2 separate regions of the Homo sapiens genome follow, and region 1 is linked to region 2. Evidence: promoter capture Hi-C in human tissues and cell types (Jung and others, 2019). All regions are on one chromosome and are shown on one strand. Each heading gives the region's core, a stretch centred on a gene start or on the middle of the fragment in contact. The rest is flanking DNA. Distances are from core to core; before and after follow the strand shown.

Region 1 (2,919 bases), core at 231-2,730, 1.1 Mb after region 2:
CTGGTCTCCACCGCAGGCTGGCTTCGTCTTACTCACAGTGAGAACATACCTCGTTTATTCCACAAATAGAGTTATTTGTTGAGCCCTGTGTTGGGGCCACAGCAGTTAACGAGACCTGCCAGGGCCCTGTCTTCCAGAGCTTACTGTCGGGCCACTGGAGGGAGGTGCAACCTTCACATCAGCATCCCCAGCTCAACACCCACTGGGGCTGAGCTGGGGCCAGGGTAACAGAGGCACATCTGAAGCTCCTTCATCGGGGAAGCAGAAGAACTAAAAATACAAGGGATGGCTGGCTGTTCATCGAGTCAGGACAAGCTTGTAGGAATAGGTGAAACAAAATAAGCGCAAATAAATCCAAAGCAAATTTTGTACCCGAGCCCCACCCAGGAAGGATGGGACAAGAGGGGAAGTCAGCCAGCCATGAGGCAGGGATGGGGGCCATTCACTCATTCACTTGTTCAGCCAGTCTGTACTGAGCACCCAGCTCCTGCCCTCACTCGGAGGACAAAGCAAAGGGGCAGTTACGTACCTGGGAGTGATCACAGGACAGCTGGCTGAGTCTGGGCGAACCAAGAAGGTTCCTAGAAGCAGCATTGTGTTTGGGCCTCGAATGAGCAGGCATAGGCTACCATTAAGGAGAGCTGGACATTAACCAATGAAGGGTAGTGGGGAGGGGACATTCCAGGCCCTGTGTGGTTCACCAGGCTGTAGGTACCCACCCATCCCTTGACCTGGTCTTTTTCTCTCGCTTTCAGCCCATGACACTGGTCTTGTGACCCTACAAGTTGCCTTCAACAACCAGATCATCTCCAACTCGGTGGTGTTTGAGTACAAAGCCCGGGCTCTGCCCACGCTCCCTTCCTCCCAGCACGACTGGCTGTCGTTGGACGGTAAGAACAGTGCTTGGGTCGTCTTGCCAGGCACCAAGGGAGAGGGATGCTTGGGGACTCTTGCACAAGGTGTGAAAGAAGAGTAAGCACCCAGAAAGGGGCAGGAAGTGGTGCCAATGTGAGCAAAGGAAGGCCGACTGGGTCTCCACCGCCAGGCTGAGTGCCTATGCTGTCAGCCATTTGTGTCTGGACACTGGCTGGCCCCACCCTCAATCTCAGTCTCTCCCTGGGACAGACTGAAAAGTATGTGAGTGTGGGCCTGTGGCTGGCACGCCTGCTGGGCTGTCTGAGTGGCCAAGCAAGCCCAGGGCAGCTAAGAGGCTCTGGCGAAGGACCCCAGGCAGCAAGGTCCAAGCACCCGCTGTGCCCCTCCAGGCCTGTTTCCGCGGGCTCCTGGAAGCAAAAAGGGTTCCCAGAGGCCATCGCCAAGCCCCAAGCCTCTCGAGAAAGAGGACGGGGAGGCAGCTCAGGCCTGGGCTTCTTTCGAATTTGGGGGCTTGCTTCTGCCTTTTGGGGCTAACCAGCCAAATCTTCTCCTGGAAGCCCTCAAATACCCTCAACTCCAGCTTCTTGGCTGATTTTAATTCCACCTCTGGCCTGTACGGCGTCTGTGGCAAGCCCAGGATCACGACTGTGGCAGAGGGTAGAGTGTCAGGGACCCCAGTGGGCTTCAAGGGAGCAGGCAGGACCTGGTGGTCAAGGAGAGGCAGGGACTCCAAGAGCTGCCAGCCTTGGCCATGGGGGTCGGTGAGTGTTGGTGGTTCCCCTTGGGGTACCAGGGGCTCTGCAGAGAAGAGCTGCCAAAGGCAGGCTGGGGACGCCAGAGCCAGAGGCTGCCATTTCCCACCTGGGCACACGTCAGGAGGCCCAGAGCTAGCCAAGGCCTGGGGGGCTGAGCCCAGTACACTGGGGATGCGGTAGGAGGGATGCCTGTCCATAACCTCAGTATCAGGTGAGCCCACAGAGGTGACACTCCATGGGGTACCTTGCTGGAGACCTTGCTAGCCCAGGATGTTGAGGTCTGGGCTAAGCTGAGCCTGAGCCCCTTGCAGGGGTGGGTTCTCCAAGCAACACCCCCTCACGCACCCCGCACCCACAGCTGGCCTTCTGGGTCTCACCTCTCAGACTGCCCCTTGCTGTTGGCTGCTGGAGGATTTCTGGGCTTGGGTACATAGTTCATTTCCTGAACCACCCAGTGTGTAAACCTCAGCCTTATCCCAGTCCCTGCCCCAGCCGAGAGAGAGGGTGCCGACAGCTGCCCTGGCTGGTGAACCCTCAGGAGACAATTCCCTGGGGTGGCTTTGGGTCTTCAAACCCTAGCATGGGCTGCCCTGGGGCACCGAGCTGCCCTTGGCAGCATCTCTGGCTGAGGCCGGAGCCAGGCAGAGCTGTGATGACCACCCACAGGATGTAACAAAGAAGGGCAGGGTGACCAGGGGCTCCCGTTTAGGAAATCTGGTTTTAGTTTTGCAGAACAAATGGGGAATGGAGTCAGGAACTCTCCAGAGCTCTGGCTCTCCCTGAGTGACTTGGCCGGCCTCACTAGAATGAACCCAAGGATGCTGGGACCACTGTAGGACCCTGCCTGGCAGATGGAGCCTTTTCAGAGAGCAAAGTCACAGTCAGGCAGTGCCCCAGAGCTCAGGACACATCTGCAGGCCCCCTGGAAACCCAGAGAGCCAGCTGTACCCCAGAAGCTACGGCACGGGAGGATGCTGCCATAGAAACCGGGGGGAAGGGGAGCCACCCAACTGCTTCATGACAGACACACCCCGGGACCTCGGCCACCCCAGGCCCCTCGAGATGGGCCTGCCGCCAAGCTGGGCACCTGCTCCCTAGCTGCCCCCCCCCCCAGAACTTTGAGCTCTGAACTCTGTGGGCCTCCAAGTTGAAATAAGCACCCCTGCACCTGCAGGATACACAGGAGGGTGACAGGAATTGGGGCGGCGATGACATCAAGGCCTGGGCGTCCAGCAGCATCGCCTCTGTTACCACCAGCCAGGGCACAGCTAGGGGAACAGTAGCTCCG
Region 2 (2,969 bases), core at 2-2,501:
TGGAATGCATGTGATACTCATCTCCATTTTGTTTCCTTGATTGCATTTTTGTTCTTTTAGCAGATCTGTCCCTGTGGGTGGTGTCTAAGAAGTCGGACACCTTGGTTTTTGTGTTAGATTGAGCTGGGCAGCTGCAATCAGCTTCTTTATATGCAAATTAGGCACGACCCATCTGTGGTTCCTGGTTGGTGGCTAATGAAGTGAGGGGAGGGAGGGATGTCACCCCAAAAGTAGGCCCTCCCATTGGCTTTGGCCAGGCCAGACACTTCACATCGTTTACATGGTTCTGTGTAATTTTAAAGTTTATGTGTATAAAGCGAAGCTGTTTCTGTGAAACTGTATATTTTGTAAATAAATATATTGCTACTTTGAGGTTCATGATTCAAGGTTCAGGCGATTGCGTTCTGTGCTGAAGGACAATTGTGTTTCTTTTCTCCTTGCTACCTCCCCAAAGCATGATTACATCAAGTCTCTGGGAAGGCAGCGTCTCAGTGTGCACTTAGCAGGATGGAAAATGCCCACGGTGTTAAGGTACCTTGCTGGTGAATTCCTTAGAAACAAACCACAGGACGAGTAGATGTGAATGGTTTTTGCAGTTTCTTCATCAGATTGAGGATTAGCTCAAGCCCCAGTGAGTGGTTAGCCTACTTTTGATTTTTTTTTTGTTTTTGAGACTTGAGTTTCGTTCTTGTCACCTAGGCTGTGAAGTGCTGTGATGAGATTTTGGCTCATTGTAACTTCCACCTCCCGGGTTCAAGAGATTCTCCTGCTTCAGCCTTCCGAGTAGCTGGAATTACAGGTGCCCGCCACCATGTGCGGCTAATTTTTGTATTTTTAGTAGAGATGGGGTTTCACCATGTCGGTCAGGCTGGCCTTGAACTCCTGATCTCAGGTGATCCGCCTGCCTCGGCCTCCCAAAGTGCTGGGATTACAGGCGTGAGCCACTGCGCCTGGCCGATTTTTTTTTTTTTCTTCTTACAAGATGACGCCTTCCCTATAGGCTGCTTTGAGAAAGCTGCAGCCTCGGAGTTTCTGCAAGGCCTGAACTGGAATCTCCCTCCCCTTCAGTTGCCCTTTTTGCCTCTTCACGTTTGGGGGTTCCCTGTGACCAAACTTAAGGGCAGTGAGCTGTCTGGCCTCTGAACTGACACCACCAGTGGCCAACTAGTACCACCTCCAGTGACGTCAGAGGAGTCCAGACCTATTCACAATTCAAAGCCCTAAAAACACTGAGGGGTTGGCCGTTGGTTTCCAGTTGTCCAAGCCTGTGAGTGGCTATGCGTCCTGGTTGGGTGCTCAAAGCAAGGAGGTGAAAGGCGACCAGCATTGGCGAATGGGGTAAGACTTGCACAGGCCCAAGGCTAGGAGTTGGGGTTTCGGGCCTGAATTGGGGCCCGGAGCACCCCTTTACGTGGCGCCCCGGGTCCCGTCCGACCCTGGGGAGACGCGGGTGGCTGGGATGGCAGGATGAGCGCGCCCTGGAGGCGAGCCAGGCCCGTCACCACCTCCCAGCGGCCCCGCCCCTCCCCGCAGGTCCCTCCCCTCTCCGCAGGCCCCGCCGCCGCCGCCATCTTTGTTGGGGGCAGCCAGGCCTGGCTCGAGATGCCGAAGTCGTGCGCGGCCCGGCAGTGCTGCAACCGCTACAGCAGCCGCAGGAAGCAGCTCACCTTCCACCGGTAAGAGGCGGGGACCCGGGGGCGCGGGAGGCCCAGACCCGGGGCCCGCGGACCGACTCCGAGGCCTTGGCGCGCCGGGCGGGAGGCCCAAAGGCGTGCGGCCGCTGGGCCCGGGGACAGGCCGAGGTCCTGGGCCCAGAGGGGCTGGCGCCGCCGCGCCCGCCGCGGGGATGCGGGGAGTGGCGGACGGAGGGGCAGCGGCGCACCTGGCGGGGCCAGGGCCGGGACGTGCAGGGAGCGGAGCAGGTGTTTGCTGAACAGACTAGCGGGCCGCGGCCGGGGTTTGCTGTGTCCCTGGTCGCTGCAGCCCCCGCCGCGCGCGGTCCTGAAGGGAGCCCGGCACCTGGGCAGTGCAGTGGAGGAGTGGAACCCCCAGGGGCGTCCTGGCAGTGGGAAGGGACTCTGCAGGGTCGCGGGAGGACGCTGGAGACTTTGGAGTCTGCTCCAGCACTCGCCCGGCCCGGCCCGGCCCGGCCCAGGAGCAATCGTCATTAGTCACAGTTGCGCTTTCTCCAAGGTCCAGTCACGGCACCATTTCTCTACCCACTTTTGGGCACATTCCGAAGGGGGGCTTGTGCTCATCGTTCCCATTCCCTCTGCTCCCATTGTTCTGTTTTGTGATAAATGCTTTGCTTGAAGTATACGTAATGTACATGCAGAAAAATGCACGAATCATAAGTATACAGCCCAGCGAGTTTTCCCCAAGTGAACGTCACTGAACTGAAACGTTACCAGCTGGGCGCGGTGGCTCAAGCCTGTCATCCCAGCACTTTGGGAGGCCGAGGCGGGAGGATCGCTTGAGCCTGGGAGTTCGAGACCTGCCTGGGCAACAGAAGGAGACCCTACCTCTACAAATAATTTAAAAAAATTAGCCAGGCAAGGTGGTGTGCCCCTGTAGTCCCAGCTGCTCGGGAGACTGAAGTAGGAGGATCGCTTGAACCCAGCTTCGAGGCTGCAGTGAGCTATAATCTTGCCACTGCACTCCAGCCTGGGTGACAGAGCGATACCTCATCTCAAAATAAGAAATAAAACATCACTACCCCCGAGAAGAACCCCTACCTGGACCCCCTCCCAGGCCCTCCTCCTCTCTCCTGCCCAAAGGGAACCCTATCCTGCCCGCTATCAGAGTGGATTGCAGTTCATTCGCTTTCGTTGCCACATAATATTCCATTGAATGCAAGTGCCAGAATTTACTGATTTGTTCTACAATTGAAGGGCATTTGGGTGGCCCCATTTTTTGGATGACAAATACATGGTTCTGGAGGCTGGGCGTGGTGGCTCACGCCTGTAATC

Evidence for each region. Contacts are between HindIII fragments. The study calls those that stand out against the background at their distance.
Region 1: a fragment that was not itself captured here is called in contact with the fragment with the promoter of THAP3 in region 2 in 1 of the 25 tissues and cell types used here (dorsolateral prefrontal cortex).

What each region holds. Positions count from the first base shown.
Region 1 is chr1:7,676,844-7,679,762 of GRCh38, forward strand. CAMTA1 (calmodulin binding transcription activator 1) reads left to right here. Exons shown (of 23, transcript NM_015215.4): 11 at 756-890. Among named protein-coding and RNA genes, the nearest start is that of VAMP3, 93 kb to the right of the region's middle. The HindIII fragment of the contact is 4,655 bases long and covers 1-2,919 here.
Region 2 is chr1:6,623,617-6,626,585 of GRCh38, forward strand. THAP3 (THAP domain containing 3) reads left to right here and starts at 1,252. Exons shown (of 6, transcript NM_001195753.2): 1 at 1,252-1,338; 2 at 1,534-1,676. The coding sequence starts at 1,603. It overlaps PHF13 (PHD finger protein 13), which reads left to right. Exons shown (of 4, transcript NM_153812.3): 4 at 1-414. RefSeq lists a silencer at 1,643-2,052. The HindIII fragment of the contact is 5,956 bases long and covers 1-2,969 here.